Linked DNA regions of Homo sapiens: all the other regions are linked to region 6. The links are contacts of gene promoters, found by promoter capture Hi-C in blood cells and fetal thymus (Javierre and others, 2016). All regions are on one chromosome and are shown on one strand. The core of a region is centred on a gene start or on the middle of the fragment in contact, and the rest is flanking DNA. Distances in the headings are between cores, read along the strand shown. Region 1 overlaps RIMS1 (regulating synaptic membrane exocytosis 1). Region 2 has its middle 160 kb from the start of KCNQ5. Region 3 overlaps RIMS1 (regulating synaptic membrane exocytosis 1). Region 4 has its middle 180 kb from the start of KCNQ5. Region 5 has its middle 200 kb from the start of KCNQ5. Region 6 holds the start of KHDC1 (KH domain containing 1). Region 7 has its middle 220 kb from the start of KCNQ5.

Evidence for each region. Contacts are between HindIII fragments. The CHiCAGO score rates a contact against its expected background, and 5 or more counts as called.
Region 1: a contact is called between a fragment that was not itself captured here and the fragment with the promoter of KHDC1 in region 6, in 3 of 17 cell types (total B cells, naive B cells and naive CD8 T cells). The highest score is 10.3, in total B cells.
Region 2: a contact is called between a fragment that was not itself captured here and the fragment with the promoter of KHDC1 in region 6, in 2 of 17 cell types (naive B cells and naive CD8 T cells). The highest score is 6.4, in naive B cells.
Region 3: a contact is called between a fragment that was not itself captured here and the fragment with the promoter of KHDC1 in region 6, in 1 of 17 cell types (naive B cells). The highest score is 5.3, in naive B cells.
Region 4: a fragment that was not itself captured here is called in contact with the fragment with the promoter of KHDC1 in region 6 in 1 of 17 cell types (naive B cells); the score reaches 7.1 in naive B cells.
Region 5: a contact is called between a fragment that was not itself captured here and the fragment with the promoter of KHDC1 in region 6, in 5 of 17 cell types (naive B cells, naive CD4 T cells, total B cells and 2 more). The highest score is 9.0, in naive B cells.
Region 7: a fragment that was not itself captured here is called in contact with the fragment with the promoter of KHDC1 in region 6 in 10 of 17 cell types (total B cells, naive CD8 T cells, naive B cells and 7 more); the score reaches 11.5 in total B cells.

Annotation. Positions count from the first base shown.
Region 1 is chr6:72,388,878-72,392,230 of GRCh38, reverse strand. RIMS1 (regulating synaptic membrane exocytosis 1) reads right to left here. Exons shown (of 34, transcript NM_014989.7): 30 at 1,495-1,633. Among named protein-coding and RNA genes, the nearest start is that of KCNQ5, 230 kb to the left of the region's middle. RefSeq lists a silencer at 1,317-1,517. The HindIII fragment of the contact is 1,949 bases long and covers 1,072-3,020 here.
Region 2 is chr6:72,461,419-72,464,715 of GRCh38, reverse strand. No RefSeq gene overlaps it. Among named protein-coding and RNA genes, the nearest start is that of KCNQ5, 160 kb to the left of the region's middle. The HindIII fragment of the contact is 210 bases long and covers 1,876-2,085 here.
Region 3 is chr6:72,371,162-72,374,301 of GRCh38, reverse strand. The region is part of intron 29 of RIMS1 (regulating synaptic membrane exocytosis 1); the gene reads right to left. Among named protein-coding and RNA genes, the nearest start is that of KCNQ5, 250 kb to the left of the region's middle. The HindIII fragment of the contact is 1,880 bases long and covers 635-2,514 here.
Region 4 is chr6:72,438,742-72,441,695 of GRCh38, reverse strand. No RefSeq gene overlaps it. Among named protein-coding and RNA genes, the nearest start is that of KCNQ5, 180 kb to the left of the region's middle. The HindIII fragment of the contact is 710 bases long and covers 1,201-1,910 here.
Region 5 is chr6:72,421,032-72,424,189 of GRCh38, reverse strand. No RefSeq gene overlaps it. Among named protein-coding and RNA genes, the nearest start is that of KCNQ5, 200 kb to the left of the region's middle. The HindIII fragment of the contact is 3,000 bases long and covers 1-2,936 here.
Region 6 is chr6:73,261,406-73,264,640 of GRCh38, reverse strand. It overlaps KHDC1 (KH domain containing 1), which reads left to right and starts at 1,445. Exons shown (of 4, transcript NM_030568.5): 1 at 1,445-1,867. All of the region lies in intron 2 of LOC122539213 (KHDC1-KHDC1L), which reads left to right. It also overlaps the pseudogene KHDC1-AS1. RefSeq lists a silencer at 1,332-1,601. The HindIII fragment of the contact is 4,328 bases long and covers 256-3,235 here.
Region 7 is chr6:72,404,965-72,408,008 of GRCh38, reverse strand. No RefSeq gene overlaps it. Among named protein-coding and RNA genes, the nearest start is that of KCNQ5, 220 kb to the left of the region's middle. The HindIII fragment of the contact is 9,392 bases long and covers 1-3,044 here.

The DNA.
Region 1 (3,353 bases), core at 797-3,296, 870 kb after region 6:
GACTTTTATTTGGTTCCAATGGAAATTAATTGGTTAAAAAATCTGTATTTCTTCCTATAATACAACTTCCTGATAGCCCCAGGATGTAAGCTGCACAAGGGCAGTGCCTGTTCTCTTCTTGTTGACTGATGTAGTTATCACTGGGTAATGACAACTATGCTCATTATGTGATAGGCATTCAATAAGCATTTTTTGAATGAGCATATTTCTATAGAGACTTACTCTTTCCATTGTGCTTTCACATCTATTATTTCTTTTAACCAAGGAAATTAAATGGGACACAGATTATAATCCCATCCAGAGACCATGAAAATAAATCCAAGAGATTAAATGGTTTATGATGGAGGCAAATTTTATTTGTTACTTTTTTATATCAGAAAATGATGTGTTCAAGTCTCATTTGTATATTACTTTATGCTACTTCATCAAATATGGGTATTTTGTCAGTAAGTTTATCTCTGTAACTTTCATACCTGCTGATTTTTGTTCTTATATTCCTTACTGGAAACATGCATAACAAGCCAATCATTTGACCAACTAAACAGAGACCAACTAGTTTCAGGAATGGGAAGGAATATCACAAACAGTAACTTGGCATAATTCTGTTAAATTTTCTAAACAATATAGAAAAATTCCAGTAAAGACAAGAAATTAGAAATATCAAATTGGTATATGAGTAATGTGAATGGTAATGAACAAATAATTATGGAAAATTTATATGTGGTGAATCTCCATGTAATCCAAAACAACACATTAATTACTTATTTGTAAGATCCACTACCTCAATAAAAATTCAATTTTACCAGAAATATTCTCAAGCATAGGAAGAAGCAGGTTTTGTGCAGGATCCATATGAAATGGTAAAAAAAAAAAAAAAAGAAAAAGAATCGAAAAGAGTAAATTTTTAAAAATCGTATTCTATTTTTTCAGAATTAACTAAAACATTTTAGTCAGAAAAATAATGAAGCTGATAGACCCTGGATTATTTCCTAAGGTAAAAATGAGTCAGCAATGTTTTAAAAACAAGAAAATGTAACTTACATATATGACAGTGTTAGACTTAGAAAAGCTTAGGGTCCAAAATAGCTTGGAGAAAATTAAGAAAATGGGAAATCAGTTCCTTACTTATAAATTTTAACTTGGACTTTGGTGACAGGGACAGACTATGAGTTTCCCATATGAAAGAGTCCATTACCTGTGGCATTTGTACACTAAACATCCAGTAAGGAACTAGTCTGGGCTTTCCTAGATGCAAGAAATCAATTTGTTCATGTGGACTCAGAATTTCTTCACCCTTTGAAAGGTATGAATGACCAGGTGTAGAGGTGTGTCCATGTGTACTTACTTATAAGCCATCAGGGTGGTTTAAAATGGATGGTTGAACTTCTGATTAAATAGAGAAGCTGCACAGTAACACTCAGTGGCTTTGTTATCTTACTGATTAGTACACAATTCCTGGTTCCACAGCCATGCAGACGTGCTGACAGCACTTACTTGCCCTCAGAGCTGTAACTGTTGATGCTGCCATCAGTAGACTCTCGGCTCGGCTGCCTTACCATCTTTCTCATTTCAGCTGCCATGCCTGTTTCTGTGCTTCTCTGGATGGTACTTTTTAACTTTTTGTGGCCCGACTCTGACAGGAGAGAGTAAAAGAAACTCTAAGTTTTATTTAGACAGTTTACTCCTGAATATCAATTGATCCTGCAAATACAATAGTTAATTTTACACATAATTACAAATTTAATCAGAAAAATAGTAACCTAAGGGAGTACTTTGCTTGATTCAGGCTCCTTGCCAAAGTATGCTTGGCTAAGGGGAGTACCACTGGATGCTATGCCATGGCCACAGTTTCAGTGACTGCCTAAATCTCAATCAGCCAAAATGAAATCATTGTATTATTGATGGTGACAACTTCAATGAAAATCTGAATTTGGCACCCAACTGTTCTGTGGAAAGATAATGGTGAACAATCTAATAGGTTTCTCCTAATACGGAATTCACTAAATGTGTATGAATAGTCCCAAAGGACAGGTCGTGTTCTTTTAAGGAGAAGGTGCATTTGGAACCCAGTTTGAAAAATACCACAGTTTTACTGTCACGTATCAGCAATCCTCATGAAGAGAAACTAGTATTTTAATTGATGATTTTTGCAGCACTTTAACATACACTATATAATATTTATACTTATTTCTACTCCATATAGATTATGGAGTTAGGTGTAACAGGTTTTATCTTAATTCAAAGACTACACAGCTACCTCATGGCCTTTTGACTCAGCTGCATGAGTTCTGACTGGCAGTTTGGGGTGTACACCTCCATTTGTACTGGGAATTACATACATTTGCATTTCAGTTCTTGATAAGCTCAGAGGAATTTTCTTGAGCCACTTTGAAATGCACTAACCAGCATTCTATTCATAGCATGGAAATAAATTCTAAAATATTTACTTGCTTACATGTATAAGCAGTATCAATAGGTTAGGAAAACTGTTAGACTTTATTCCATCTATACGTCCTATATAAATTTCTGGTTTTCGCTTTAGTTTCTGTATAGTATCATATAATACCCATTAATAATATATGAAAAATGCTCTATATACATAATTACATACATAACTACTATATAAACACATTAACTTTTCAATCCACATAAAACCTTTACAAAGCAGGTACCTAAATACACTCTTAGATAAGCCATTTGAAACACTGCATTTTTTCCCTCTCATTTTTGGTCACTGGATTCCTTTTGTAAATTGTCTAATCAAAGATATAATAGGTTATGCTATATGAACTTAATGCTGATCCTTCCTACACATTTAGTATGTTCATTAAAATTTTTATTTTTTATTGTTCTTAACCTTTTTATTGCTATTTTTGCTTACAAAGACAATATATGTATATTACAAAATATTTAAATGTTACAGAAATTGCCAACATTGAATGCCCCCTATAATTTCACCACTCAAGGAAGACAATGGTTAGTAATTTGGGAACTATTTTTTCTTTATACCTATACAAGCTTCTTCACTTGGCTACTGTGATCCACATTCTCCGTTTTTCCTTCTTTGACATTGGTTGTTACTTCCCAGTCTCTTCTGCTGGATTTTTCCTCTTTGAGATTTTTAGAAATAGACAATCCCTAGACCTCAGGCCTCAGACCTTTTGCTTTCTTCTACACTTACTTCCTAGGTGATCTCTAACATAGCTTTAACATAGCTAACAAAGCCACCTATGCCCTTGTGCCTCCCAAATATACATCAAGGTCTTAACCTTTCCCATAAATGCTGAAGTCATTAATCCAATTGCCTAGTAGCTCCATTTACAGATCTGATAGGCACTTCAACATTAACATAT
Region 2 (3,297 bases), core at 731-3,230, 800 kb after region 6:
GTATGAATTAAACTCTCAAAATAAAAATTGATAGAGAAAGAGGAGATTTTATCTATAATTAACAAACTATTTTATTCAGAGTGACTGAAACAAATAATTAAATATTACTAATGAATGACATTAGGGACGTATGTTAACCACTGCTTTGCCACCTCTGCCCAGGCAGAGGTGTTTTGGTTTAGAGGCCTTAGTGGTTGTTTTGGAGATTTGAGTTTCATGTTTATTTATAAAACCACAGGGGTAGTGCTGTGCTGTGAATGTCCAATACACTAGCAGCCAGTTTCCCAAGTGAGTTCCATGCTTCTAACAGAATCCAGATGTTTTCAATTCTTCATGTTACCAGAGATTCAGGTTTGATCAATAAAGAAGTTACCAATAAGCCTATTGAGAACACATTGTCCGAACAGTATTATTGTTTTCATGGTAAAACTTCTGAGGCTTGATGGACTATTCTAGGATAAAAGGGAGAGGAAAAATAATAAGTGTAATTTGGATACACTCAACTCCAAGCAGAAGCATAATTATTTTATCTTATTTGTGATGAGGAGCATGTGATGGGAATTGATTTCATGGTTTTCCATGGGGTTCAAAATAGAAAAATAAACATATGCACATTCATTAGAATAATTATCTGGTGGTACTGTTAATGATCTTTATTTAGCACATGGAAATAGAATTTTAGACCTGCAAATATAAGTCAGAATTCTAGAACATAAGAGCTTAAAGAGAACTTTGGGATAATTTAACCACACTGAAGTCCAGGGAAGTCAACTGACACTTAGGTTCACATAGCTAGCAGAGAAACAGCCCAGACTTGTTGAAGGATATGTTTAGAGCCCATTGTACACAGATTATGAATTAGCAAGTCTTTTTCTCCTCTTCATTTTCATTGATTGTATCTGATGTAAAGGGAATGATCAGGAAGCATTAAGACAAAATGAGTAAAGTGAAAAGCTGTGCATGTTGCTTAGTCTATTTGTGGCACTTATGTACGGTTTGGTGTGAAAAGAGGTTGAAACTGGTATCTAAATTGAAATCTTTCTCTATCCACTGCAAATAATAAGTAGTTGATTATGTAACCACTGTGGAAGATTGTATTTTCCAAAGTTGGGAGTAGCAATATCTCTCATCCCATGGTTTACGATGTGACCTTACCACTCCCCTCATCCAGAGGTAGAGTCTATTTTCCTACCTCCTCTACTCCTCACCCTCGACCGCTGTCCCTGCCCTGCCTACACTTGGGTGGTCCTTTGTGACTCCTGGGTAAAAATGATGTATAACTTTGGAGGCTAGGGTCACACAGGGCGATACTGATTTCACCTCTATTTTGGGATGCTTGCCTTTGGGATCCAGTCACTATGCTGCAAGGGAAGCCCAGGACACCTAGAGATGCCACTGACAGGTGTTCTAGCTGGAAACTCCAGCTGAGGTGCCATCAAACAGCTGTGTGTGTGAAAAATCATGTAAAATAACTCTAGCAGCCACTATCATCTGAGTGCAGCTGCTCCTGTGACCCTGGACAAGAATTGCCTAGACAAGCCCCATTTCCCTGCCAAACAATGAGAAATAATAACACATGACTGAGGTTATTTTAATTATTAAGGTTTTGAGTTGGTTTGTTAGAAAGCAATAGATAAGGAGAATACTACTCCTATAAACAGGAAAGAAGAAAGGTAGGTAAAAGCAAGTTATTATTATTCTTTAAAAGACAAAAATTAATTTGGAATCAATCAGACTCACATTCTACAGTACAAAGCAAATTGATTTCAAAGAAAATGTGAACTATTATCAAAGCTCATAAGGCTCTAGCAAAACCCATAGATAAGAGAACATATAATGGAGTGGGGGCGGGGGGTCAACAAGATTTTCTAAGCTTGAAATGGGAAATTATGTAAACTCAACATTATTGTACATACATATTTCTATTTGCTTAAAAAAATAGGCAAGATGACCTTACGCATCTTTTCCACCTCTAACTTCCACCATTCTATCTTCATCATGTGGGTGTTCAGTTTGCTGAAAAAGCCAGATTTCAGAACAGCTTTCTTTCAGAAATGATGTTTTTAAAGTTAAGGAAAAAAAGCTTGCCACACTGTAGAAGTGGCAGCTATAAAAATAGACATGAAAATAAATTGAAAATTCATAACAATTGTGCTGAAAAAGACGCACTGGGAATTGAATTACAAAGTAAAATGAATAAAGTGGGCTTTTGATTAAATGAGTGCACCAAAGTATTTACAGTATGATAATATGTTGGAAACAGCTAGAGATACTGCAGAATAAATGAAGAAAACACTATGAGTATAGTGCTAGGAAAGCACCATCTCAAAGCATAAGGCAAGGGTCAGAGAGCTGGGTTAATTCTATGCTTTAACAGAAAGAACACTCAAAATTATGCCTAGAAAATGCAGAAAAAATGGGAACACAATATGTCAAAAAAGTTTTGTACTAATAGGAGGATACTAAGGTAGAAAACCAAGGGATTTGGACCAGGTTGTGTAAGATAAAAGTACATTCCTTTCCTCTGCATGCATCCTACCCCCGCTGTCCTCAGACACATATCAACACCATACGTTTTTAAAGAGCAAAAGTGACTCCATGTTCCTCACTTACATCTGCACAGATGGCGACAATTATTCATCAGTTTCCTAACAATTTCTCTTCACTTTCTAAGTAAAGGTTGGAGACCTTAGTTGGACTGCAGTTCTAATAAGATTTAGGATTTCATTGATGTTCCTCTACTAGTAACTATTTTTGGCTAGCTTAGCATCTACTCAGTGCGGCAAAGTATACAGAGGTCTAAAGCCTATAAGCAACTTCTACATCATTAAGGAGACAGAATTAAATTAACAAAGAATAATGAGTGCTGGAAAAGTCTACACCATGTTAATGGACAGAATGCACTGGATAGGAAATTTGAAATTTGGGTGAGAAATGACAGACTGAGAGAGGAAGTCATTCTTGACAAGTGCCATGCTTTATACCTGGTACGTAGTAGGTGCTTTAGAAATATTTATTGAAAAATTAAGCAAGTAAGGCAAAACATGTGAAAAGGGGACTTAAAACTGTGTTAGGGAGTAGTCCAGCCTGGCTAGAGAAGTGAAGGCAAGGTTTAATGTCAAGGAAAAACCAGATAAAGGAGGCCTGGAAGGAAGGTGATGCGTTCATTTTCTATGGTAGAAAAATGGAAATCAATAAAACTGCCTGGTACTCAAGAGAGATTACTCTGACAGCAGAATATGATATGGATCAGAAAGAGAAACTAAGTGAGGTAGCATCAATTTCAGTTCTTTTCTG
Region 3 (3,140 bases), core at 325-2,824, 890 kb after region 6:
AGACCAAAAGAAAACTCTTAGGACATAAAAAGAAATGGTTTGGTGGTGAGAATTGGTACAATGAAGTATTAAAAACATTAGGTCTTTAGGGCCAGGCGCAGTGGCTCACGCCTGTAATCCCAGCACTATGGGAGGCCGAGGCGGGCGGATCACGAGGTCAAGAGATCGAGACCATCCTGGCCAACACGCTGAAACCCCATGTCTACTAAAAATACAAAAATTAGCTGGGTGTGGTGGTGCGTACTTGTAGTCACAGCTACTTGGGAGGCTGAGGCAGAAGAATCACTTGAACCTGGGAGGCAGAGGTTGCAGTGAGCCAAGATCCCGCCACTGCACTCCAGCCTGGTGACAGAGTGAGACTTCAACTCAAAAAAATAAAAATAAAAAATAAATAATAAAATTAGGTCTTTAGTTTTCATCTCACTACTCATCTTTTAAAAATTAGATGAACATGAACTTGAAATATGCAATACAATAAAAAGTATACTGGTGAAGAAAAAATCTGGTGGATTAAGGTTTACCAATCTTCAGAACTGCATTACTGTATCTTAAGGAATTGACTAAATTACTTCAAGTACAGTATTTAATGATTCTGTGGGAGAAAAAAAAATGTGCCTAAGCAGATGTCTAAGCTTTAATGAATGAAAATGTTAACAAAATGTGAGATAAGAATGATAACGTATTACTGACTCTAATTTAATTTGACATCCTTAGCAGAATCAATTACTTTCTGCCTCTCTTCTTTCCAGTTTGCTTATTACTCTCAAGGCATTGTCCTAAATTGACTATAAACAATGACAATCCTGATAATTTGAGGAGTAGGAGGTGTGTTCAGTGTTAATCACACACAAAAATGTTTGATTCTGGTTCAGCCACACTTCAATAAGTGGGAATGAATGAACATGGCCATGAATGTGGAATTGATAACTCTTCCTGAGAAGGAAAACACTGTAATTCACAAGGTAAAAACAAACCTGATACTTTTTCATTAGAGCAGGAGTATATTTATAAGAATATTAAATACTGGCTTATGCAATACTAAAGCAGTACTAAAAATAAGCACTGAGCTGAAAACCCTGAAATTCAAATTATCGGTGGGTTAAATTGATCCATTTTAGAATAGAACAGATCAGAAACTTAGCATTGAAACCTTAAAAATAAATGACGGAATCCAAAGTCTGATCAAAGAATCCAAGGTGCAGTAAGGTTAAACCCTTAGCCTGTGGTTACTTAGCTCCTTACCAACACAATGAAAATTAGAGCCTTAATTTTTCCACTTCTAAGTCTTTGACCTTTACTGTAGATAAAACTTTAATTTTAATTTTGTTTAAAAAAGAATTGTCTTATTATGAAAGCAGTGGACTGTGTCCTTTATTCCCAGGATTGTTTGTTTCAGAAATCACACACATTGTTACACTCCATTTGTTCACACTCTTAACAGGCCAAGTCCAACCTCCAGTGACTTTAGCATCTCCCTGCTTCAATAAATTGTTATGTAACAGGTCATGCAACCTGGCGGCAGCCATATATAGTTTCCCAACAATGAATAGCAAACCAATCGCTGAAGATTAGACACAGTCCAGAGAAACCACTTTTAGTTCTTTCCGATGTTCTTAGAAACAGGGAGATTTTGTTTGCAAACCTAATTCTTAAGTATGCTCCTTCAAATTGCCCCTACAAAGGTACAAAAGGGAGAAAAGTACTGTATGTCCCTGTTTACTCTAAATTCTTGGTAAATTGATTTTGGCTGTATTTCTCTGTACAATAAGTTCACATTTTTTGGAAAGAAAATAAGCAGTCAAGTTCTAAATCAATCTCAGGAAAAAAGAGCATTTTTGTAGATTTTAATGTTTCACCTACCATTTGCTAAGTTAAACACATAAAAAAATCTTTAAAACATTAAAAAGATGGAACCCTAGAAAGCATGGCAAAAATAATTATCTCAGGAGTACATTAACAATTTTGATGAGAAATGATGGGTAATTTTGTAAAGGTTAAATGCCATGGAAATATATATCTTCAATCTCAATTGTTGAATGAGATACTTTTACCTTTTATTTTCCTTTCAAGAAACCACACACAATATAATATTGACATGAAAATTCATGATTCTCACCAACACATGTTTATGGCCTGTCCAACACAGATTATGAGGTCTGATTCTGATCCAGAAATTTCAAACAGGCTTCTAGAACCACAGGCCTAGAATCCTTGGCCCAGGTATTTTAGATTCTTGTTTTGAAACAGCCTTTAAGATTGCTGCCTTTATTCTAATACTCCACATTCTGACTTGCTGTGAGCCCAAGATGATCTAGACTGTTTCCTGGTTAGACTGCAACCCAGAGTAGAATAATTATATTCATAAAGAATTCCACTATTTGATAAATATTTTCAGTTTTTTGGATGAGGAAACCAAGGATGAGAGAGGTTAAATTATTTTGCTGAGATCATCGCCAGTAAATGGCAGAATTAGAACTCACATTCAGGGCTTCTAGCTCCAAGTTACCAAAAGCTTTGCCCCTTAAAAGGCACCAGGTGAACTATGGCTAAGGGGCTCGTCTATCTACACAGGGACTGGTTGGGTCCTGCCCATTGCCTCTTAACTTCCTCTTGAATGCTGGCCAGCACTTCAGGACGTGACCTAACAAACTACATTTCTGTCTTCCTAACTCTGGCCTTCAACTGATTCCTGATTCCTTCTACCTTTCTGGTGTCCTTGGGAGAGAAGTTAGTCAACTTTTCAGGGTATACTTCACACTTCAACTACATATGCAAATAAACATAAAACTGTAAAATTCAAATATGGACAAAGTTTCAAGTCTTAATTAAAGTTGTCTCTTTTAAGTAGAGCACTTTAAAGTAGTGCTCTACTAGAAAGAAAAACAGGATGACAGTTTGCTTACACATCTTAGCATCTGCAGAAATCATGTTTCTCCAGGAGAGTACTGTTATTTTACCAGAGTAATAATCCACGAATTTTTTTCAAAGACATATTTTGACTTACTAGCGCTTGTAATTAATCCTATGATAGCATATGGCTGGGGGGATGTCACACATAGGTGAAATATCAATTAAATAAATTTGCATAAGAACCACCCATAATAGACCCTCCAGACCACACATGTGCACACACAGCACAC
Region 4 (2,954 bases), core at 306-2,805, 820 kb after region 6:
CCAACTGTCTCATCTTCCTCAAATGCTTATAATGAATTTGTAGTGGCTTTATCTGAAGAAATCAATACTCATAAAACATCTACCCATGTTGTACTATTTTATAGAGTCGGGTTAAAAAATGATGCTCCTTAATAAATTCAAAGACAGAATCTACCTTCTATCTTTCCTGTAGGGGTAAGGCCCAGCTCTGAAAGAATAATGTTTAACTAGTGGTGATTTTGCCTGGTGATTTTAACCAGGAGACATTTGACAATGTCTGGTGATACTTTTGGTCCTCACAACAGCAAGATGCTATTGGCATCTAGTGGAAGAGGCCAGGGATGCTGCTGAACATCTTAAAATGCACAAGACATCTCCCTACAAAAAAATTATTGGAATTATTGGGTACAGTGGTAGAAGAGACTCCTCTGTACCTTCTGCTCGAATTTTATACTTCTCTAAAAAGTGAAATCTATTAAAAATTATCTAGCCCCAAATGTCAATAGTACCAAGGTTGAGAAACCCTGTCCTGAAGGAAGCCATGAGAGTTCTTTACTAATTCTGAACCTACTTTCAATTTTTATGACAATGCTAGCTATTGTAAAGGAGAACAATTTTGTATACATATGCTTCCAAAGTGAGTTCAAATGTACATTTCTTTTTTTTCAAATCAGAAGATGATGCTATACTTTAGTAACATATGCTGCACAACATCACCCTCAAGATGAAGCCATTTAGCTATACCACAAATATGAGCCATGCTGAGGTGAGAATGAAATTCACTTTTAAATGAACATACTTATGCCAACAGAGGTAAACTAAATTAGAAGTATGCGATGAGAAATTTGGTCTCAGAATTTGGCTATGAGGGATGACCTACTTTGTGGGGGGTGGGGGGGCTCATTTTTGATTTCCAGAATCTGTGTGTTTCCCTCATTGCATGAGTCTTCCATACCCACACATCTTGTGGGCCATATGGTGCTCTTTTGGAATGACTTTCATTTGATTTTCTCCTTTTCAGAGATTTTTTTTTTTTAAATTTTCACTCTGTCAGAAAGCACAGAGGTCCTTGAGGAAGGGTCTTTTGTCAAAATGCTCTTCTTAGTAGTAGTGACCTTTGATGATTCCACTAGGATTCTTAGCAGAATAATATATCTTCTGAAAAAAAAAGCAAAAAACAAACAGACAAAAAAACCAGAAGTATAGCCTACTGGTGAAGCTTAGAGAAGCATTTTATATAACTTGTTTGGAGGAAGGAAGGAACCCACTCTTCATTTGGGGTTAGGACTTCATTAGTTTCCTCATGGGGAAAATTCACAGATTTCTTTTAGGCAGGGGTTGTGTGATGGGGAAAATGGGCAAGCACAGAGGTGAGTTAGGGGTTAAGGATGGGAGAATACAAACGTCACTTACTGGGGAGTTACTCACTGCAAACCTCAGGGCCATGGAAGAAAGGCACTTGACAAAATCACGTGTGACCTGAGATGTTCAGCAGTGAGGAAGATGAGAGAAAATGGCTCACTACTTCTTACAAGGACCAACCCAAATACGGGGGGACTTCAAAAAATACATGGAAAAATGGAATTAAAAGACAAAAATTGCCAACTTTATTTTTCAACATAAGCCCCATCAAGTTCGGGACACTTCTGAAAGCTATGATACCAGTCATTTAGTCCATCCTTAAAGAAATGAGAGTTGGGAATGTAGCCATGTCAATGCCATCTTTTTTTACATTAGTAACTGAAGAAAAATGGTGCCCTTTAAAGATTAGTTAAATATTAGGAAACAAAAGAAGTTAGCAGAATTTAAATCAAGACTGTAAGGTGAAAGCCTAACGATTTTCCATCAAAACTTTCACAAAATTGCCCTTGTTTGATGAAAGGAATGAGCAAGAGCATTGTCATGGAGGAGGCAGACTCTCTGGTGAAGCTTTCCCAGGTGTTTTTCTTCTAAAACTTTGGCTAACTTCCTTCAAACACACTCATAATAAGCAGATGTTATTGTTTTTGCGTCCCACCCCCTGCTCCTGGAAAGTCAACACACAAAATGCCTTGAGCATCCCCAAAACTGCCGTGATCTTTGTTCTTGATTAATCCACTTTTGCTTTGACTGGACCTCTTCCACCTCTTGGTAGCCATTGCTTTGATTGTGCTTGTCTTTGGGATCATACTAGTAAAGCCTTGTCTATCTCCTGTTACAATTCTTCAAAGAAATGCTTCAGGATCTTGATCCTACTTGTTTAAAATTTCAATTGAAAACTCTGATCTTGTCTGTAGCTCAAGTGGGCACAACATTTTTGGCACTTACCAAGTGGAAAGTTTGCTCTGCTTTAATTTTTAGTTCACAGCTGTGTAAGCTGAATAAGTTAAGATGCCTATGGTGTTGGGCTACTGTTTCTGCTGTTAATTGCTGGTCCTTTTCAATTGGGACACAAACAAGATGAGTGTTTCCTTGCAAGTATGTGTGGATGGTATGGCACTGTGAGCTTCATCTTCAACAATATCTCATTCCCTCTTGAAATGAGTTATTCACTTGTAAACTGCTGATTTATTTGGGACATTTTCCCCATAAACTTTCATAAAGCATTATTTATTTCATCATTCTTCCACGCAAGTTTTACCATAAATTGATGTTCATTCTTGCTTTAATTTTAGCAGAGTTCATGTTGCTCTGATTGGGGCTCTCTTGAAACTCATATCTTATCCTTCTTAGTGGCTCAAATTAGATGCTGTTGAGGCATGTTATAAAAAGTTAGTACAAGTATATTTTGGTGCAAAAAATTTAAAATCCATGCATTTTTTCAGAATATATATTTGTTTTCTGTAAACTTTTAAACTATCTATTAGTATTGAAAATGCCAACAGGACAGCAGGAGAGACTCACGATTAATTAAATACAATTAAGGAGTGGAACTTACTGTACCAAAACAGAACCTGCTCACTTCCCAGAAAGCCTGCCCAGACTTTTAGTTTTCC
Region 5 (3,158 bases), core at 187-2,686, 840 kb after region 6:
CAAGCTCTTAAATCAGATGCTATATTGCCTCATATAATGCATCAAACCTGGAATTATGATGATAAACTGCAGTGCATAAGTTTGTTCTTATATATGGGAAGAGCAAGGAGATAAGTGAGAGCTACGCAAAGAGAAATGAGAATCAAGTCATTCCTCTTTACAAATTATACCTTTTCGCCGTATTTAGATAAAATTTTCAGAGTTTCATTTGTTTTGTTTACTTATTTTTTTCTCATTCTACCTTAACTCATGATGTGCTGGTAAGTTTTTAACAACTATTTTTTGGAATAAAAATCCCTGATTTATAACATTTGCCAGTTTCTGTGGTGTAAGTAATCACACCATGGGTGATTTCATGCTATTAATGTGAGTTGGGAGGGATATGGATATTCAGATTAACGAAGCCTAAAAGATCAACACAAGATTAATGAAAGATTAAGGAAGCCCAAGCAAGATCAATACAAAGAAGGAATACTCCAAGGCACATTATAATCAATTAGTCACAAGTCAAAGACAAAGAGAGACTCTTGAAAACAGCAATAGACAAGAGACTTGTCACATGTAAGGAAACCCTTATAAGCCTATCAGAAATTTTTCAACAGAAACCTTGCTAGCCAGGAGAGAGTAGGGATGATATGTTCAAAGGGCAGAAAAAAAGTAATGCCAACCAACAAGACTATGCCTGGCAAAGCTGTACTCAGAAATGAAGAGCTAAAGACATGCCCAGGCAGACAAATGTTGGGGAGGTCATTACCACTGGACATACCTTACAAGAAATGATAAAGGTTCTTCATGTTGGAATGAAAGCATGCTAATTAACAACATGAAGACATATGAAATTTAAAAACCCAATGGTAAAGGTAAATATATGGTCAAAATCAGAATGCTCTAATACTGTAACGGTAGTGTGTAAGTCACATATTTCTAACATAAAAGTCAAAAGACAAAGCTATTAAAAGTAATCATAACCACAATAATTTGTTAGGGGAACAATATAAAAAGATGTGAATTACGACATAAAAACATAAAATATGCAGGGGGAGCAAAAATGTAAAGGTTTTGTATGTGATCATAATTGTTATTAGCTTAAAATAATCTGTTATAACCATAAAAATAACCTGATATAACTATAAATGTTCTATGTAAGCCTCACAGGAAGAGACGTACACCAACAGCTCTTATAAACTGGCTTCAGCATGTCACACTGTTTATAACCTGCCACAATGGAGCATTCACTTAGTAGTTGAAAAAGTGATAAATTCCAGAAGAAAACTGTTTTGAGGGTTGAGAGATTTGGAATCTATGCTATTTTTTGTTCATTGAGCTCATTCCTAAAAAAAATCTAGAGAAATGAAGCAATTCTCCCTCGTAGATTTTATGGTATTCCATTAAAAACCTAGGAAGGCCTGAATAGTTTCTCAGGTTGTGAGCTGATTCCAAAGTTTTCAAGTTGAAAGCAATGAGTTTATCCAACTGAATATCCAGAAGGGAGAGCTACACCTCTGACATTGGTGCTGGATAATTTGCTGAATTAATTCTCCAGTGGGACAATTAGAGCCTTTAACATCTATCGTTAGGGAGGAACAACTCATGAAAATAGGGAATAAAATTTTCCTAGAAATTCATCTATGAAAAGGTATAATTTATAATATATATTCAGTGTTCCCAGTGAGAGCTGATCCTGGGAAAAGTGCCATGCCACTGCTGGCCTCAGTGTTCTGGCACAGCACTGTTCTGCTGGAAGAAACTGCTCTCTGCAGAAACTTTTATCTCTCTGCGCTTAGACTTCCAGAACACTCAGCCAGCCAGGAGAAGGTGTAGGCACAAGAAGCATGGATACCCTGAGGTGATGCCTGTGGGTAGAGGAGGTAATCCCTGAGCTATGTGAAACTCACCCAGGCTCCATCCCCTAACTATAATAAAAATCCAAAGTACTTGCTCTTCTCTTGACTCAAGCCATTCCAGAAGAGCTTGAATACCTGCCATATTCTCCCTAGAGTTTCATTATATGAGTAATATTCATACCCTCTGGGTGCATGTATAACACCATCAGTCCTGATACCCAAAATGATATTGAGTGGGGAATTGATCCTTCCCTAACAGGGCACCCACAGAACACTAAAAATAAGACTGTTTATGTCATCTAAAAGAGACCAGAAAACCTATGGAATTTGTACAATCACATGAGGGAGAATCCTAGGCTTTCTTATTGGCTTCCGGGTGAGGTAAAAGGGGAAGGAAGAAGCGTGGGGCCTGAAAGCTGCCAGTGATTAAACATCAAAATGAAGTCATCACATTTAGGTATTAAAATAGTCAAGTATACTTGTGCTCCAAATTTTTAATATGTAGAATATCAGGGTAGTGTGCTGGGTGATAAGGACATGGAAGTTCATTATACTATTCTATTTTCGTATGTTCGAAAATTTCTATAAGTTTTTAAAAACCCGAGTCCAGTCTTGCTATGATTTGGTTTGTCTCTGCCAAAGATCATGCTGAAATTTGATCTCCAATGTGGAAGTGTTGGGAGGTGGGGCCTAGTGGGAGGTATTTGGGTTATTGGGCAGATCTCTTATGAGTAGATTAATGGCCTCCTGTGGGGGCAAGTGAGTTCTTCCTCTTGCAGGAATGGATTATTTCCTGACAGCAGGTTGTTAAAAAGAGTCTGGCTTCCTCAGTTCCAATCTTTTCCTTCCTCCCACCATGTCATCTCTTTGCACATGCCAGCTCCCCTTCCACTTTCTGCCATGAGTTTAAGCAGCATGGGGCCCTCACCAGATGCAGCTGCCTGATCTTGAATTTTCCAGTTGTCAGAATCACGAGCTAAAGAAATCTCTTTTCTTGTAAACTCCCAAGTCTCAGGTATTCTGTTATAGCAACATAAAAAGGATGAAGATAAATCTAACATAAAAACTTCAATTTCTCATGCAAGTGAAGCTTCTCTCTTTTTGACAATATGAGCCTAATTCAAGCTCAAAACCTGTAGTAGAGATTGGACACATGATCAGATGATCAGTTTCTTTTCCATTTTCACAAATTTCTCAATTCCTCTTATCTCTGTGTTGTGTCTGAATGCTCCAGGGTTGTGTTGAAAGCTGGGAAGAGAAGGAAGGAAATGAGAAAGTTGTTATCTAGCAGTGGTTGCCCTCATGGTTGTGAGA
Region 6 (3,235 bases), core at 196-2,695:
CAAAGGAATGCACTCAGAGCAGCTCTACCTATTCCTGTCCATCAGTTGCTGGTTGCGCACTGGCACTGCACATACCTGCTCCACAGAATCTTAAACCTTCAGGACTCTACCTGCTCACAGGTCCTGGGTTCCTACAGGCGTTCTTCATCAAGGGTGGGGCCACAGCTTTGCCCCAAGAGGGCAACCTGCCTCCTTGTTCCTGTACTGGCTTGAGACTCCTAGGCTGTGTCTGAACTAGCTGATAGGCCAGAAGCTTTAGGATGAAAAGAATACTGGAGGAGTCCTCAAAGTTAGAACTTTTATTGGTGTCTGTGTCCCCTCACTCATCTTAGCTATCTTGACCCTTCCCTACTTACCTTAATGATTTCGTGATTTCAATGAAAAAGACGCAACCTAGATAAGATTGCAAGGTCCCATACCTTCCTGGGGGCAGAGTTGACCTCAGACAGGGTCTTGCTTTGTTGCCCAGGCTGGAATGCAGTGGCGTGATCTCAGCTCACAGCAGCCTCAAACTCTCGGGCTCAAGCAATCCTCCCACCTCAGCTTCCCATATAGCTTGGGCTACAGGCGTGCACCACCATGCCCAGCTGATTTTTAAATTTTTTGTAGAGACAAGTTCTCCCTCTGTTGCCCCAGCTGGTTTCGAACTCCTGGGCTCAAGCGATCCTTGCTCTTTGGCCTCCCAAAGTGTTGGGATTACAGGTGTGAGCCACTGTGCCCAGCCCGACCTTTTGTTAATACTCCCATCTAATTGTCCAAACGGACTTGAACAAAAGAATCTTCTTCCCAATACTGCCAGGGAGGGCAAAATTCTTCAAATTCATGTTTGAGGCCATAAACGAACAGGAGTAAAATGGAATCCGCAGGAAGCAATGACAAGAAACCCAAAAACATTCATTTCCCTCCAGCCCAAGTGGCAGATGGGATCTCAAATACACCACGGTGTGATGCGTGACAGGAGGCATCCACTGGGGATGTGGAGCATTTTAAGTGCCCTGCAGAGGGTGGGCCTGGGTCACCCCCCCCCCCACCGCGACACCCCTCCCCAGGCAACATTCCTGGGGAGTCTGGACCTCCCTTGGTGGACCGACACCCGAGGGTCTCTAGGGTTTTTCACCCCATATCGGGGTGAACTGAAGGCATGGGAAGAGGCAGCCCCACAGCCTGGGTCCCCAAAACCCCCTCCGGGCTGAGAGCAAGAGATGCCGCCTGGAGGCCACTCACCAAGCAGCTCCGCTGGCTCAGCAATGGGGGTCGTCCGGGTCTGGGTCATTGCCACTGGCTCGTCCCTCCTCCCACCCTTGCTTCCTGGACTCAAGAGCTGCTGGGCTCTCTGCGCGCCGGCAGTGGGCTCCGCAGGCTGTCTCCTACACAGAGCAGGCGGGAGGAGGGCTCTGGGTTGCTTCCCGCGCCGCAGCCGCGCGCTTCCGGCGGGGTCGCCGCCACTTCCGCTCGAGCGCGCCTCGCGCGGCCGCGGCGCGAGCCGGGACCCCTGGAAGGGTCGGGTGCGCGGCCCAGGAGGTACCGCTGTCTCCTCACAATCGGCCAGGCCTGCAGCCGCTGCCGCCGCTGCCGCCGCCGCCGCCGCCGCCGCCGCCGCCCTACTCAGGGAGTGGCCCAGGCCTGCGGCGCGCCACCCTCACCTCCTTCATTCCTACCGTCAAAGCCCAGCCTTGGCTACCTGACCCCCCTGTGGTCTCGAACTCGGTTAGTCCGGTGAAGGGACAGAGAAGCCTGGGTTCCCGGCGGCATCACTGAGATGCTCAGTCCTGAATTCTGCCCTCCATTAGGATTATCTGCTTTGTGGGATAATTTCCTCATTGGTTGAGTCAGTGAGTTGCGTGTCTGCAAGAGAGCATCCTATCTGGTGGGTCTTCATCTAGATCTTGCACATTTCTTACTAAGTTCATCCTAAGAATATCTTACAGATAAGGAAAGTGAGCTGCAAAGAAGTGTAAAAACAGGGGAAACAGGAGATAGCAGTATAAAGAGAAAAATTAAAACAGATCGTGTGACTTTCCTCTATTGTTAATTGATTTGGGGACATTTTAAACTTATAGAAAGAAAAGAAACACGGGTTTTGTTGACACATCTCAAAACAAAATGGGTGTAACACCTTTAAAATGTAAACTATTGTGCTGGATATGTTTGTATTATTTTGAAGTCATTTAAAGTAATCGCATGAGGTGTTGCCTGCTGTTGGACCAGTAGTTTCTTTTTAGTATTCAAGCAAAGGCATAGTGAGGAAATAGTAAGAAAAAAAGAAGGAATGCTGTAACAGGAAACAAGGGAAAGGAGGAGCAGAGGAAAAGGGCAGGAAAGGTTTAACATTTACGTAGCACTTGCTATGCACCAGACACTTTTAAGCTCTTTAAATGTATTAACTCCTCTAGTTCTCACCACAGCCCTATGAAATGGGTATACTATTATCACCTCTGGTTTACAAAGAAGGCAAGTGAGGTCAAGAGAGGTTAAGCAACTGGCCCAAGGTTACACCGTAAGTGGCAAAACCTTTGCTTGAGCACATCAATTTGGCCCTAGAGTCTATGCTTTTTTTTTTTTGAGAAGGGCCTCTTTCCTGCTGCCTAGGCTGGAGGGCTGTGGCACCATCATGGCTCACTGCAGCTCCAACCTGCCGGGCTCAATGAATTCTCTCACCTCAGCCTCCTGAGTAGCTGAGACCGCAGGCACATACCACCTTGCCCAGCTAGGCTTTTTTTTTTTTTTTTGAGATGGAGTCTTGCTCTGTCACCCAGGCTGGAGTGCAGTGGTGCGATCTTGGCTCACTGCAACCTCTATCTCCCGGGTTCAAGTGATTCTCCTGCCTCAGCCTCCCGAGTAGCTGGGATTACAGGTGCCTGCCACCATGCCCAGCTAATTTTTGTATTTTTAGCAGAGACGGGGTTTCACCACCTTGGCCAGGCTGGTTTCAAACTCCTGACCTCATGATCCACCCGCCTTGGCCTCCCAAAGTGCTGGGATTACAGGCGTGAGCCACCACTCCCAGCCTATTTTTTTTTTTGGTATTTTTTTTATAGTGACAGGGTTTCACCATATTGCCCAGGCGGGTCTCAAATTCCTGGGCTCAAGGGGTCCGCCCGCCTCGACCTCCCAAAGTGTTGGGATTACAGGTGTGAGCCACTGTGCCTGGTCCTAGAGTCTATGCTTATTTTTTTAAAAAAAATTTTATTTATTTATTTATTTTTTGAGACAGAGTCTAGCTCTGTCACCAGGC
Region 7 (3,044 bases), core at 161-2,660, 860 kb after region 6:
TGCCCAACAGCAGTGGATTGGATAAAGAAAATGTGGTACATATACACCATGATGGAATACTATGCAGCCATAAAACAGAATGAAATCATGCTCTTTGCAGCAATATGGATGGAGCTGGAAGCCATTATCCTAAGTGACCTAAGGCAAGAACAGAAAACCAAATACTGCATGTTCTCGCTTATAAGTGGGAACTAAACACTGAATACACATGAACATAAAGATGGGAACAATAGACACTGAGATCACTAGTGAGGGGAGGGAGGGGCCATGGGCTGAAAAGCCATTTGTTGGGTGCTATGTTTACAGCCTGGGTAATGAGATTGCTGACACCTCAAGCCTCAGTGTCATGCAGTTTATCCATGTAATAAACCTGCACATGTACCCTTTAACTTGTAATAAAAGTTGGAATAAAAAAAGAAACATGAGAAGCCTCTAAAATTACACTTGATCCCATTCCATACTTTTTAACAGACTGAAAATGCCTGTTCTATGATAAAAATAAAGAATAGTATATTTTGTCTTAAAAAAGAACTCTATAGTAGAAGAAAACACAACCACTCAGTAGAAAAAAATTCTTTTTGCAGACACTAAATAATAAAATGTAAAACAATCATACAAAAATATTTGCAAAAAGTATTCAGTGACATACTGGAAAAAATAGTTGACAGAAACGCATAGCCAATGCAAGAAGCATCTTTAATAAACACTCAATGAAAACCAAAGGCAAAACATTAGGAAAAAACATGAATTTAGGGTGGAGTGAACATGATGGCAGGAACAAGCTAGAGTGATGTAGGCGTGTGGTTTCTGATGATTTTATGTATTGATAGAACTTGGAAAATGCAGAGGAATGAATAGATAAGATAACACACATAATCAGAAAAGCCGCAGTTGCATGTTGCGGGACATAAATAGGGAAAGGAGTGATAGAATTAAAGTACATGCAAAGGAGGATGAAAGAGATGATCCAGCATCTGAAGAGAGAACCTAGACTGACTATACAGAAAAGGAGAAAGAAAAAGGTGGTAATTTCAGTGAAACGACTCAGTTCCTCTGCTCCTGGAGAAATTGGGGAGAATTCAGTGATATGGGAGCAGATTTGCAGGTAGAGAATAGGTTGGGAACCTTGCATTGCAGAAGGCAGTTAGAGAACCTTGAGAGGCTGAGAATTTCTGGAACAGAAAGATTGTGAGGCTTGCTAATGAAATCATCCAGGAAATGGCACTGAAAATGGTGGTTAGAAAGCACATTTTCTAAAGCTAGACTCGTTCTGTTGGGCTGGGTCAGAGAGGGTGTTCTCTGTCTGCTTCTAAGAGGTGGTGCTCACTAAATGCAAAGGTTGGTCTAGAAAAGGAAGGAACAACCAGCCCTACTGAAGATGCACAGAATGGCCTGAAGACAAAGATGCACAGAATGGCCTGAAGACAGCATTATGTGATATGGGCTATTGAAATTAGCACTCCTATCACCTGAACAGACGACAAATCCTCCTCTGTTTTTATCTACCAGTACTGGAAAGGGACATTGTATCAGTGGTGGTGGATCAGATAAATGATCAGGAAATGAAGGCCAGATTTGTCCAAGAGTTTTGTGTTCATATGAAGTCTTCACAAGGTTAACTTAGACTTCACAAAGTTAGGTTTATGCATAATGGTTATAGGTGCTAACATTTATTAAGCCACTTACTATGAATTCAGGTTTTGTCCTAAAAATGTAATATTTACTATTTACTTTAATCCTCAAAATAATTGTATGAGGTAGGTGTTATTATTATTCCATTTAACAGATATGTTTTAGTGTATTTTATGTTAGCCGTATGTCTTCCTGCGTGCTATAGATATAATTATAATGCCATATTCCTCAAAATGTCAGTCTGGAGTCTTAGAAATATTTAAGGCACCAGATGAGTGGCTCCATAATTTGGAAGAGAGGAGAAGATGAGTGTCATCAGAGTGAGTGTGGTTGGATGTGGCCAATCTTGAGAATTTTTGTCCCACCTTTCCTAGGTCTTGAGAGAAGAGAAAAAATGGATCTAGAGCAGACACAACTTTCCCAACATGTCCTTCTCTAAGGCAGAAGCATTCTCTTTTTTCTAGTAGCATCCATATTGCCTTGGGAGAACTACCCTAACTTTTCTATGTGGTTTGGGTGCAACTGCCTGGATTTCCTAGATCCAGGGCTGGACTCTTGACACAAGCCTGTCTATCAAGGTATTTCATTTTTCTGGTCAGAGATATTTGTTCAGCATTAGGCATGGATCAAGATGATCCAAAGGAGATTCTGCTGGGATGATGGGACAATTGTGGGTTTTTTTAATCCAACTAATACATTTACATTTACAAAAACCAATTGACCACCAAGTATGTGATAAGATAGGTATATACTTTAATTAAAGGAGTTCTGTGGTAAGAGCTATAGAGCAGCAGTCACCAACCTTTTTGGCACCAGCGGCTGGTTTTGTGGAAGACAGTTTTTTCCATAGACCCAGGGGGAGAATGGCTTCAGGATGATTCAAGTGCGTTACATTTATTGTGCACTTTATTTCTATTATGACATTATAATATGTAATGAAATAATTATATAACTCACCATAATGTAGAATCAGTGAAGCCCTGAGCTTGTTTTCCTGCAACTAGATGGTCCCATCTAGGGGTGATGGGAGACAGTGACAGATCATCAGGCATTAGAATCTCATAAGGAGCACGCTACCTAGACCCCTCCCATGTACAGTTCATAACAGGGTTCACACACCTATGAGAATCTATTGCTGCTGCCAACTGACAGGAGGCAGAGCTCACTTGCCTGGCTCACCTCTGGCTGTGTGGCCCAGTTCCTAACAGGCCACAGACCAGTACCAGTCCGTGGCCCAGGGATTGGAGACCCCTGTTTTATTGGGTCTGACAACCTAGACTGGGGTTATTAATGAGCAGCAGGTGGGGTAATCGGAGGAGGCAGGGTAGACAAAACTACTTTTGAAAATTTAAAGAATAATTCTTTGTTCTATCTCCTTTACTCAAACTGTTCCTGAAGTCTGCATATTATGT